Linked DNA regions of Homo sapiens: regions 1 and 3 are each linked to region 2. The links are contacts of gene promoters, found by promoter capture Hi-C in blood cells and fetal thymus (Javierre and others, 2016). All regions are on one chromosome and are shown on one strand. Each heading gives the region's core, a stretch centred on a gene start or on the middle of the fragment in contact. The rest is flanking DNA. Distances are from core to core; before and after follow the strand shown.

The links. Contacts are between HindIII fragments. The CHiCAGO score rates a contact against its expected background, and 5 or more counts as called.
Region 1: a contact is called between a fragment that was not itself captured here and the fragment with the promoter of YAF2 in region 2, in 1 of 17 cell types (activated CD4 T cells). The highest score is 5.0, in activated CD4 T cells.
Region 3: a contact is called between a fragment that was not itself captured here and the fragment with the promoter of YAF2 in region 2, in 1 of 17 cell types (non-activated CD4 T cells). The highest score is 5.6, in non-activated CD4 T cells.

The regions. Positions count from the first base shown.
Region 1 is chr12:39,619,256-39,623,577 of GRCh38, forward strand. It overlaps ABCD2 (ATP binding cassette subfamily D member 2), which reads right to left and starts at 548. Exons shown (of 10, transcript NM_005164.4): 1 at 1-548. The coding sequence starts at 360. RefSeq lists enhancers at 1-29, 340-859, 2,089-2,168. The HindIII fragment of the contact is 1,017 bases long and covers 2,415-3,431 here.
Region 2 is chr12:42,235,691-42,239,836 of GRCh38, forward strand. YAF2 (YY1 associated factor 2) reads right to left here and starts at 2,558. Exons shown (of 4, transcript NM_005748.6): 1 at 2,465-2,558; 2 at 1,909-2,034. The coding sequence starts at 2,490. It overlaps LOC124902920 (a long non-coding RNA gene), which reads left to right and starts at 2,755. Exons shown (of 2, transcript XR_007063279.1): 1 at 2,755-3,037; 2 at 3,447-3,588. RefSeq lists silencers at 1,684-2,013, 2,134-2,203, 2,304-2,683, 2,734-2,973, 3,164-3,303 and an enhancer at 1,849-2,350. The HindIII fragment of the contact is 7,822 bases long and covers 1,234-4,146 here.
Region 3 is chr12:40,097,251-40,101,565 of GRCh38, forward strand. All of the region lies in intron 1 of SLC2A13 (solute carrier family 2 member 13), which reads right to left. Among named protein-coding and RNA genes, the nearest start is that of SLC2A13, 6.7 kb to the right of the region's middle. RefSeq lists a silencer at 2,297-2,591. The HindIII fragment of the contact is 4,970 bases long and covers 53-4,315 here.

The sequences.
Region 1 (4,322 bases), core at 1,673-4,172, 2.6 Mb before region 2:
AAGAAAGGTTCTTGAGATTAGAGCCACTGAGTGCAGGCAGAGCCACCCTGTTTCAGTGGTCACAAGTTTTGGAAACAAAATTTTCCGAAGTTCTAGTAGCTGTTTGAAGAAATCTGCATTCACTCCAGGCGAAGGTTTTTCACAAATGGTCTCGGTGCAATGCAGTATTTCTGTGTTCTCTGCAGCAGGGTAAGCTGCTGCTTTTTTCTTCCCGTGGCCAGATTGCTTTAAACGCTTGCCAATGATGGGATAGAGGGTTTTCAGAGCATATGCCGCAGCCACCAGGCAGGCAGCCCTCTTAGCAGCACTCGATCTGGTCCATTTCACTCGATCAGCTGCTGCATTTAGCATATGTGTCATTTTCCCAGTTACCCAAACCGGCTTCCAAAAGAATTCGTTTTAAAAGATCATGCTTCACAGAAATCCCCAGCAAATGTTTTAGAAAGTCCTACAGCGTCCCATAGTCTGCAGCGTTTCTCTTCCACTGTTGTGTTTTTAATTTTGTTCTGCTGTGACAGATGCAGCAGAGCTCAGACTCCGCTGCATCTACCGGGAATGATTCTCTCAGAAGCTCAAGCTGCACCAAGCTCCTCCCTCCCAGGCCCCTCATTGGCTGTGAGGGCGGTGGGACCTTGGAATCCTCGCAGCTTCCCTTTGAACCTTGAAAATGAGGAGAGAGCAAAGCGAATTACATCCTTCCTTAAACAGGAGTTCAGAGAGTTAAAATGTCTATTTTTGGAGAGGTCGAATCAGGCCATCTGCTGGCGAACAAAACCGGCTCTAGCTACTGAGCATGCTCAGTGTCACTTAGAAACCCACAGAAGTTTCAGAATATACATCACTTCGGTAAGATTTCAGTAGATACCGCAAACAGAAGAGCAAGCAGAAAGGGAGATTTCCAAGCGAACAAAACCGGCCCTAGCTACTGAGCATGCTCAATGTCACTTAGAAACCCGCAGAAGTTTCAGAATATACATCACTTCGGTAAGATTTCAGCAGCTACCGCAAACAGAAGAGCAAGCAGAAAGGGAGATTTGCAAGAGTTTTAATGAGACGAGGAGGGAGAAGGAACCACGAAAATGAGGGAGGAGGGACAAGAGGATCAACATAAAATGAATATGAAAAGGATATGGAATGAATCTGAAACGGATCAGAAAAGAAAGTGACAAGTGGGAGGGACACCGGAGAATGCCAAATATCAAATACACTTGGATCTGTTTTTCACAGATCCCCCCGGCTTTTTTGGGGGTCTGATTTCACAAAAGGTCTCAGAACCTAATAGACAAGTTGTAATCGAGGGTTTCCCTTGTAAATAAATAGGATAAAAGTCTTCCGTGTTACAGAAAATAATTATTTGCTATGCCTCTAGCCATTCTCCCTTTTTCCTCTGCATCCTACTTGTCCTTATGCTAAAAATCTTCCAGCCCCATAACTGGAGATCTGATGTACTCATATTTATTTACAAGGTGACGACTATTAAATAAATGAGAGCAATGTTTCATGTTTACTACTCCCATGTGTTAGGTAGTTTTTACTTGGAGTGGGGTAGCACTTATAGTGAAAGTTTAACCATTTGGGAATTCAGCTGGTGTTGGATGGTGGAAATAGCTTCTCTAGGACCTTACTTCATTTTTCAAGAATGCTTTGTCTTTTGCAGGTTTCTGCTTTGTTTGTTTTGTTTAGCTGTAGAGATAATCTACTGGCTACTTCCTATTTCCATTTGGTTATTTGATAAAAACTAAGAGTCTTAAAATTCTTCACATCCATAATGGAGGATTTAAATTGTTCAACAGTCAAGGACAATTCTGCATATTTTTGAAAATGTAAAAAGCTTTTTTTTTTTTTTTTTTTTTTTTTTTTATGAGACAGAGTCTCTCTCTGTCACCCAGGCTGGAGTGCAGTGGCACGATCTCAGCTCACTGCAGCCTCCGCCTCCCAGGTTGGTGCCTCAGCAGCCCGAGTAGCTGGGATTACGAGGGTGCGCCTACCATACTTGGCTAATTTCTGTAGTTTTAGTAGAGATGGGTTTTGCCATGTTTGCCAGGCTGGTCTCAACCTCCTGGCCTCAAGTGATCCACCTGCCTTAGCCTCCCAAAGTGCTCGGATTATAGACGTGGGCCACCACGCCCAGCCAAGAGCATTTTTTAAGTCAGGGCTGAGTATATTTTTGGATATGGAAAAACCATTTTTTTTGCTCTTCACTGTCCCCGCCCCCCATCTCATTAAAATTCTCGGAAATCTCCCTTTCTGCTTGCTCTTCTGCTTGTGGTATCTACTGAAATCTTACAAAAGTGATATATATTCTGAAACTTCTGGGGATTTCTAAGTGACACTGAGTATGCTCAGTAGCTACAGCCAGTTTTGTTCACCAGCAGCTGGCCCCCAACATACATACACATTTCCAGTCAATTAAAAGCTTAGGAAAATATGCATCAAGCTAGAACAGAAGTTGGCAAATTACAACTGGTGGGCCAAATCTAGCCTGCCACTTAATTTTATATGACCCTTAAGCTAGGAATGATTTTTACATTTTTAAAGTGGTTGAAAATACTTCAAAACAAGAATATTTTGTCCTGTGAAAATTATATAAAATTCTCATTTTTGTGTTTATAAATAAAGTTTTATTGGAAAACAGTCACACCCATTCATTTACTCTCTGTCTATGGCTTCTTTCAAGCCACAGTGGTGGATGCAACAAAGACTAAAATATGTACTATTTGGCCCTTTATAGAAGTTTGCAAACCTCTGTGCTAGAATATAAAACCCATCTCAGCATTAAATGATCTTCATTACTGAGTTTATCACAAAGAACTATCCTCACTTTCATAAGTAACCATATTCTTAAAATTTTAAAACTTCTTTCTTATGTACTCATATTAATTCTGACAATCATCACATATCTCTTCATTTGTTTGCATTCAATTCAGCAGACTGACTGACACATGAGTGTCAAACTCATGCAAGTTTTTTTGATAGCTGGCCATATTAGTAGCATAATCCATCATCCCATTAAGACTTTTTAAGCCTGTATGTACAGATAATAGTGGTCATGGAAGTTATTGCCAAAATCTTTTATTCCTAAGCTCTTGCTTTTGTTGTATGCAAGATAAGGTTGCCTTTCATTTATGTCACATCTCCTAACAGCTACACACAAAAGGGTTAGCAGTGACAGGACAGGTTAAAGGCCAGAGTAAACCTAACTGGGGGTGATGGCAGGATGTTGTTAGGCAGAACATGGTACACAGAAGGATGCAGACAGCAGCTGGCAGTCGAGGCAAGTGGTTTGCAATACATACAACCAGAGACAGCCATATTAGGGGAGGAGCATGGCAGTGAGAACTCTAGAAGCAAAGGACACTAGAGATTCAAATAGGACTTAGCTGGAGGTAGGTCAGTTTACCAACTGATAATGAGGTTATAGTGCAGGAACAAGCTTTCAGCATCTGGAGTGAGAGACTTGTGAGAATGAAGAATTATTTATGAGGAAAATGATCAAGACAGAAATTTTGTTACCTGAATCGTGGTACAAGGAAGGTTGAAAGTGAGTTACTTGAAGTGTGGAAAATGTCAACGTGAAATTTGATTTGATATTGAGCCACTTAGGTGAAGACCTAACTCTAACCACTTAAATTTCACTCCCACCATTCACCTCTCCCTGCTCTCAAGGGTAAGAGTTGGTCCTAGTGTCTGAGACTAGACACAAGCCTTCAGATAAGGCAGAGGAAGGATTCAAGAAGACAGGAAGCCATATGGACAATTAGGTCAATAATATATGGCATTTAAGTAAAAAACTAAGAATGTCAAGGTACTTCTTTCAGTTTTTTCTTTTTCTTTTCTTTCTTTCTTTCTTTTTTTGAGGGGGATGGAGCCTCACTCTGTTGCCCAGGCTGGAGTGCAATGGCACAATCTAGGCTCACTGCCACCTCTGCCTCCCAGGTTCAAGTGATTCTCCTGCCTCAGTCTCTCAAGTAGCTGGGACTGCAGGTGCCCACCACCACGCCCAGCTAATTTTTGTATTTTTAGTAGAGATGAGGTTTTGCTACGTTGGTCAGGCTGGTCTCGAACTCCTGACCTCAGGTGATCCACCCCCGTCGGCCTCCCAAAGTGCTGGGATCACAGGCGTGAGCCACCGCGCCCGGCCTTCTTTCAGTTTTTTTCTATTGACAGTATGCAATTAAAGCTAAGAGACTGTTAATTTAGTTTGAATTCCAAACTAGGAAAGAGGAGAAAAAAATCTTTGTTACTGTAGTAAAAAACATACTTAGGCCTAATTTCCACACAAACGTCTCAACTTCAAGTGTGTTTATATGGGAGATTATTAA
Region 2 (4,146 bases), core at 1,308-3,807:
TCTCTGAGTCCTCCTCAAGTAATGTTTCCACCACTAAAAATTGGATCTACAAGAGCTTAGATGTACTGGTAAAAAAAAAAAATGTCAGGGGCCCCCATGTGGGCCTCAAGCCTCTTTTAAACTAGGCCCACTTCTCTGTCCTGGGCCAACTCCCCTGTGTACTATATTCCTTCTTCTTCCAGGTGCCAGGTATTCAGCCTGTTTCTTCTCTTCTGAGCTGCCACCACCTACTCTATTTCTCAGGGTTCCTCTAACCCCAAGACTGGCTGTGGAGTAGGACACCAGCTTCCCCCCTTCCTTGCTGTCCCTGCAAATAAACATATAGGCTCTTCTAGTTTCAGTATTTTTCTAATGGCTACAAGAAAATAGAGAGGGAACAACAAAAAGCAATAATATATAGTACCAGAGATCAAGATTATAATTGTTTCCACTTTAATGTTCCTGCCTCCAAAAAACGAATTTTCTAAAAATTGCTTATTGAGCATTTTAAAAAGCACAAAGTACTAACACAGATACACAAATATACTCTAAACCAACTCCAACCTTACACAGCCAAGAAGATACTCTGCTTTTCAAAATACTTAAATCACAAATCACGGGTCCAAAAATAGTAACCACAATCATTTTAGCAAATACTTTTTTTCTTTTTGGAATGTTCTGTTGTAATCCCTTAAATTTAGCATACGTTTGAAAGTTTGCTTTTTGAATATGAAAAATGTACGAAATATTTTATCAATTGTGGGAATATACAAAAAGCATATGATGATTTACAAAAAACAAGCATGTCAAAACCAGCGAGCTTCACTGAGAAATTTTTCAGATAAGTTACTGTCAACCATTCCTGTCTCTAAATTTTAAACTTAATAAAATTCTGTAAAGTGTTTTTTAAAAAATCAAGATCTCATTTTTTAGAAATCTAACGTCTACTGAATATTTGTATATGTCAATATTACATGTGCCTTCTTTTTTAAAGCAACAGTAAGATTAGTATGCTTATTGTTATAGTTTAGTTTCTAATGGACTTTGTAATATCAAAATACATATCTTCTCTAAATATTAAGTAATAAATCACAGGATTATATTTAATTCAAAGGGTACCTTCGTATAAGAATCAAGGAGCTCGATAACTAAGTGCTGACAGATTAAGAATGCCACTGACTGAATTTCCTGGATGATTTTCTTTATTCACTTAATTCAAAGTCATTTTTTAAAAGACAGAGTTATTATACTGCAAGCTTACAATAAATAAAGTCTGAAAATAGGCAGAGATCTTTTCATCTCATTTGTCTAAGAGACTGCCATTTAATCAAACTAAAGATATAAAGGTACTTTCAGTAAAAATCTGTTCCTGTGACTGGGCTCATCTCCAACTACTTATTTATAAAATATTAGAGTACTGGAATAAAAACACTAAATAAAACCTTGATCTGACCCTTCCAGAAGTACATGTAGAAAAATAAGTTTTAATATATTGTGTATTCTGCAATCAGATACTTTTCTTTCTTTAGGAACGAAATTAAATTACATCCTTTGCTCCTAAAGAGATTTTATGGGTTTTCCTTGATCCCCACACACTAACACAACAATGCAGCCAACATTTTTATACCCAGAATGGGGAGAGGGGCATTACACCCAGCGATACGAATTAAATCGCAGTAGCTAATGCCTCCCTTAAATAATTTATTCTCTCTTGGCAGCAAAAAACGTTACAGCCTCTTCAATTACCCCTCACCGCAAACCATCGCCTGGGTTGCGATCAATGTGACCCAGTTCCTATCGCCACAGCCACCTCCGTCTGCCTCCTCCCGCCGGGTCCGCCAGTGTCATGGGAGGGGGCGGCAGCCGCAAGGGCGTCCTCTGGTCGCCACCCCGCCGGCCGGCGGCGCGAGGGGCAGGCCCGGGACTCACCGGGTGGAGGTGCCCTTCCGCACATCGCACATCATGCACTTGAAGGCCTCGGCGCTGTTCCGGAAGGTGCAGACGCTACAGTCCCAGTAACCCTCATCCGAGGACGGCTTCGGCTGCCGCTTCGGCCTGCAGGACACAACCCGGACACGACGCGGCGCGGGGTCACCAGCAGGCCGCGCCCGGTGCCCGGGCCCCGCGGCCGCCCCCGCCCCGCCCCCCGCCCCAATTCTGCGACCCCCGCCCCGCGGGCCCTCGGCGCGCCGCGCTCCGGCTGAGGGGGAAGGGAGTCAGGAAGAGGCAGGGCGCGAGCGCGGCCGCAGTCGCCGCCGCCACAGCCGCTCTGACACCCGGGCGGCCGCTCCGGTCGCCGCCGCCATCGCGGCTCCATTGTGGGGCGGCCGGCGCCGGCCCCCTCAAGCGGCAGCACTCGCACACCAGCGGCGCTGCCCCCGTGCTCGCCCCGGTGCCCGGGCGGCTAGCGAGGCGGCCACCCGAAGCCCTGCACGAGGGCCCTGCCGCCCGCACAGTCCGGGCCCCGGGGCCCGGGCGCTGTTACCTGGTGGGGCTCTTCTTGTCTCCCATGGCTTGGCTATCACCGCACGCCGAGAGTCGCCGCCGCGACCGCTCTGTTTGTCAATAAGGAGGATAATAAGCCGGGCGGAAGCGGGCGGGGGAGGAGGGAGGGAGGGGGCGGGGAAGGCCGCACCGCCGCGCTCGGGAGCCGCCGCCGGATCCCACGCAGCCTCCAGCTGTCGGGGAAACTCCTGCCTGGGCGCACGTGACCCTCGCCGGCCAACCAGCAGCCGCGCCGGAGACTTCAAACGCGGCCAGCGCGGCCCAGCACCCGCGGCGAGTTAGCCGGCGGGCGGTGCGGGGGTGGCCGCGGTGGCCGCGGCTGCCTCGGGCGCCGGCGCCGCCTCTCCGCGCTGTTCCCCCGTTGCCCCCTTGGTACCCCCGGCTGCCGGGGACTGCCTCGCGCTCCAGAGCCCCTCTGAGGAGGAAAACGTCTGTCCCACCGACTGGCAGGGGATGCTCCGTCATCCCGTGCGAAGCCTGGTCCAAGGTAGGGCCGGCCGGCGTTCGGAGGCCTGTCCAGGTCTGGACAGAAGTGCCAGCCCGGGATCTCCAGGTAGAACGACTTTCCTGGCCTCCGCTGTCCTTAGCTACCCAGCCCCCGCCTGCAGTATACCGGGGGGAAGGCGGGAACCAACACGCAGCGCCATTGCTACATGCCTTAAAGCACTGTCTGGTTTATGCACACAGATGCTCTAACAAGTAGGGATTGTCAACCCTAACTTAGAGGAATTGAAATCAAGACTCAAGAGAGATTAGGTGACTTCCTCTAGGCTATATAATTAGAAAATGACAAAGCCAAGAGTCTAACTCTGTTTTAATTCCAAACGCGCCCTTTTGGCCTCTCAGGCCTCTGCAGTAGCTGCTTTTGAAAGAAACCCCTATATACTCATAAGTCCTTTTTAAATATAAGGAGTTTGCATGTCCCCTCAACGCTGTCTGCTAACAAAAGAACACCTTCCCAGGTCTCTACGTCAACATACTAAAGGTCCTCATACTCCAGACTCCAGCAACAGCCATCTAACTGGTCTCCGAAGCTCCACTTCTACCTCCCCAATGTATTCAGTAATCCACAACCAGATTAATAATAAAATGCTGTTAATACTATGCCACCACTCTGATAAAGAACCACTAACGACTTGCCCACACTCCTTAGCCTGGCATTCAAAGGCTTCACACATTTTCCCTACCTCTGCCTCCCTCTCCCATAAGGAAAGCTGCCTCCTGACAAAGAGTGCAGATGAAATTCATTCCCTTACCAGAACCCTTCCTTCATGCACATGGGTTACTTCTGCATAAAGTATATCCCTCTTTAACTGTGCTGTTTCTGTCCATCTTTCTAGGTTTACATCAAGTCCGAATTCATGTAAAATAATTTTATAGCTAAACTACATAGGAAATAATACAGTCAGAAGCCCAGGATTCTCAGCCTGCTTCTCCTGTTTCTTAGCTGATAGACCTTGGAAGTATTGCTTAATTTCTGTAATTCTCAACGTTTTCATATTCTGAATTGCATCTATATGAGATTGTTGTGCGATTAATAATAACATTTTTTGGCCGGTTGCGGTCGCTCACGCATGTAATCCCAGCACTTTGGGAGGCCGAGGCGGGCGGATCACCTGAGGTCAGGAGTTCACAAGACCAGCCTGGCCAACGTGGCGAAAC
Region 3 (4,315 bases), core at 1,288-3,787, 2.1 Mb before region 2:
AAATGACATACTCCTAGAAGTAAAATCTAGTATTTTATTAGAACTTCCAAAAAGCTTACTCTCAAGGGGCATGACAAATGACTCCAACAGTTTTAGTTTTGTGTGTGTTTAGCAAAAACAAATAGGACTACATCAAACTTAAAAACTGTACATCAAAAGACACAATAAACAGTGAAAAAGCAACCAATGGAATGAAAGAAAACATTTGCAAATCATATATCTGATAGGGGGTTAATATTCAGAATACATAAGGAACTTCTACAACTCAATAGCAACTGCAATAAACCAATTAAAAATAGGTCAGGGACGTGAAAATGCAATAAACAATTTTCCAAAGAAGATATACAAATGTACAAGTGGCCAACAAGCCTATGAAAAAATGTTCCACATCACTAATCATAAGAGAAATGTAAATCCAAACCACCATATCACTTCATATCCATTAGGATGGCCACTGTCAAAAGAAAAGAAAACAACAAATATTGGTGGGAATATTGAGAAATTGGAACCCTGTATACTGCTGGTAGCAATGTAAAATGCAGCCACTATGGAAAATGGGATAGAAGTTCCTCAAAAAATTAGAAATAGAACTACTACATGGTCCAGCAATCTCAATTCTGGGTATATATCCAAAATAATTCAAAGAAGGACCTCAAAGAGATGTATGCACTCCCATCTTCATTGCAGCATTATCCACAACAGCCAAGAGGGAGAGGCAACTCAAAGGTCCATCAACAGACGAATGGATAGATTAAATGCCCTATATATGTGTATATGTATGTATATATGTATATATGTGTATATATGTATATATGTGTATATATATGTATATATGCATATATGTGTATTTATTTTTATATGTGTGTGTATATATAGGTGTGTATATATATACACACACATATACACAATGGAATATTATGCAGCCTTTAAAAAGAGGGAAACTCTATCATATGCTACACCATGATGAACCTCAAGTGAAGTAAGCCAACAAAGGACAAATACTGCATGATTCCACTTACGTGAAGTATCCAAAGCAGTAAAAATCATAGAAACAGAAGGTAGAAAGGTGGGTTGCCAAGGGATAGGGAAGAGAGGCTGGGGAATTTGTGTTTAATAGACACAGTGTTTCAGTTTTGCAAGATGAAAATGTTCTAGAGATGTGTTGTGCAACAATGTGAATATACCTAACAATACTGAACTGTACACCTTAAAATGGGTTAAGAGTATAAATGTTATGTGTTCTTTACCACAATAAAAAAATAAATCTATACTAAAACAAACAAAAGTAATGTCCACATGACATATCATGGTAAAGAACAATTATGCTAGTTTCAGGGAGGAGTGAGTGAGTGAGTGAGTGTCACAGACTGGTTGAGCACAGGCTGGGAAGCCAGACCTCTTGGGTTTGAACTCTGGCCCCACCCAGTAGCTTTGTGATCATGAGAAAGTTACTTCAACTCTTTCTGCCTAAATATCCTTATCTTAAAATAAAGGTAACCGTATTATCCCCCTGGGTTATTATGAAGACTATGTGAATTAGCCATGTGCAAAATGTTTAGAAGTTAAGCATTCAACAAGTCTTAAGTACTACGTCCAGGGTGTTGGCCGCTAAGCTGATGGCCAATCCACACCCTGCCAAGAGGATGGACTGCCTAGACTCCTCCCAGTGCAGCGGCAGGGTGGCGCTAAAATCAGAAGAACACTGGTGCCATTGCTCGCTGGTGACCAGCTGTCACGGTGCTTGGCCCTGCTGTGAAACGATGCTCCTGCCACGTGGCCTTGGACACATGCTGCAGACCGCACCATTTCAAATGGTGGCCTTTAATAAAAGGCCTAACTAGAAAGCATGTAGTACTCTCAACTTGAGTTTAGAAGTACCCGTAAAACTTTTTTCTCTCTTTCTACAACCAGAGAAATTAAATTTTACATGTGGGAAAAGTTTGAGGTTTTTCTGGTGAGTATGAATTTTCCTCCTGACAATGGAAGTTTTGATACTATTAGAAATAGGTGCTATAAGAAGTGTTGCTACTATTTATTACTCTGATGGGTCACAGGAAAAAGAAAGGTAAAGAAATGGAAAAAGGTGTAGACAAGAAAGATGTACAAAGGAGCCAAGTACAATATGAGAAAAAGAAAATTAGACTCAGGTGATTTTGGGTAAAGATGGCAACGACTGCTTGCTATTTCAGTTCTCTTAGCAGTTTCTACATCATTAAAGGTGTTCAAAAAGATGTTAGTGTGAAGTCAGTTAACTTTGAGTGTGTTCTTACTTTAAGTTTATAATCCATAAGAGGGCAAAATGGATGAATGAAAAAGCACAATGTTTTCCAAGGAAGTCACGTGAACAATTTCACATAACTCACGTTAACAGACTTACGTTATCTTACTGACAACTCACTTGAAGAGGGTGTTGCTATACTACTAGGCAAACACAACTAGATCATAATCCTCACTATAACTGCAGTGTCAGTCCCTAGGCTGCCAGACAGAAAAGGGGAGGGAACAAAGCTGTTAATGTGTATAAAACAAGGAAATACAAGAAGTCAAAGGAGGCTTTATGTGTCAGTTTCACACCAGTAGGAAGCATAAATCCAATACAGAATTCCTGCCTTCAAAAACAACCAAAAAGAAAGAAAGTGGGGAGTAGTGGAAAAAAAAAAAATTTGAGCACCTCCCCCCAAAACTGTATTTTAGCTGATTAACTATTTGAAAATTAGGAGCTTCTGCCCAACTATGCTTACCTTAAATGACATTCTTTGTTGACATTGATCTCAACATTGCATTTTTTTGATCAAACAAGATTTTACATTTCATTTGCACTGAGGAAGAATTCAAAGTGCTGTTTGAAAAAAAATGTGGTATTTTTAAAAGTATTACTCAACAGGCCATAATATACTAATTACAAGCTGCAATTTACAGCTACAAATTGTGTTCAAGTAGAGGGAGTCCGGAAAGAGGCTGACACAGGAGAAACTGATGTAAATCTAAGATTAATTCAACGAATCCCGTGCTGTATAAATTAGTATGTCAATTCTCAGGAAAGGTTTTGAATACTGGTGACTATCAAATTTAGAGATTTCTTGATATTCCCTACACAGGCCCTAAATCACCACTTATAATAAGCAGTAGAATAAATGCCAACACCAGGGAGAAAGGGCTAATGGGTATGCTTTTTCACTGACTGTGTACATGCTAATAGTGTTAACAGTACTATGCTCTTGTACTTTGTGTTTTCTAGACAATTTCTTTTGTGTTATGCATGGGAGATACACAATGATAGAAAATAAATAAAGCAAATGAGCAAACTCATATTCTTCAATCCTGTTGTAACTAACCACACTTCAAAACCTTGATTATAGGTACAATACTGCTAAACAAACACCTGAAAATGGGATTGTGTGTAAAGAACATACAAAATAAGATTAACCCTGGGCCGGGCATGGTGGCTCACACCTGTAATCCCAGCACTTTGGAAGGCCGAAGCAGGCAGATCACCTGAGATCAGGAGTTCGAGACCAGCTTGGCCAACATGGTGAAACCCTGTCTCTACCAAAAATACAAAAATTAGCTGGGTGTGGTGGGCAGGCGCCTGTAATCCCAGCTACTCAGGAGGCTGAGGCAGGAGAATCGCTTGAACCTGGGAGGTGGGGGTTGCAGTGAGCCGAGATCTCGCCACCGTGCTCCAGCCTGGGCGACAAGAGTGAAGTTCCATCTCAGACAAAAAAAAAAAAAAAAAAAAAGATTAACCCTGTTAGAATACAATCATTTCTGGGATGGAAAACGTATGTCCTATTTGAAATTCGACTTTTCACGTTTAAAAAGTTCAGATGGTCATGGTAGCAGGCAGCGACAATGGAGAAAGTCTAGTGTCAGGACTCAAGTGGAAGAGAAAAATAAACTAGAGGAACCAAAGATGACTCTGGTGAACCAATAAAAAAAAAAGAAAAGAAAACCCAAAATAATGCCATATTTAAAACAGGCACGCAGTATTTTTTTTACAACCAGTCAAGAAAACAGAACCCTTAAATCAAAACAAATACACATATCCCTGACTTCTGATACTTAAGGTCTTTTACTATACAATTCATTTAATACCCATTAATAACTACACTCTACTCCTTGCTATCTTCGCCTTTGTCAAAGGTTTCTACTGAAGGGTCCACTGACTCCTTCCATATCAGTAATTCACGGTCACATGCTATGCTTTACCCATCCTGTAGTAGCCATCTCAGCAAATGATTGCTAATACCCAAAATTTCAAAGACATGAGAAGACTTAAGAAAGAAGGTAAAAGAGCTTAAAAGTATAATGGGAA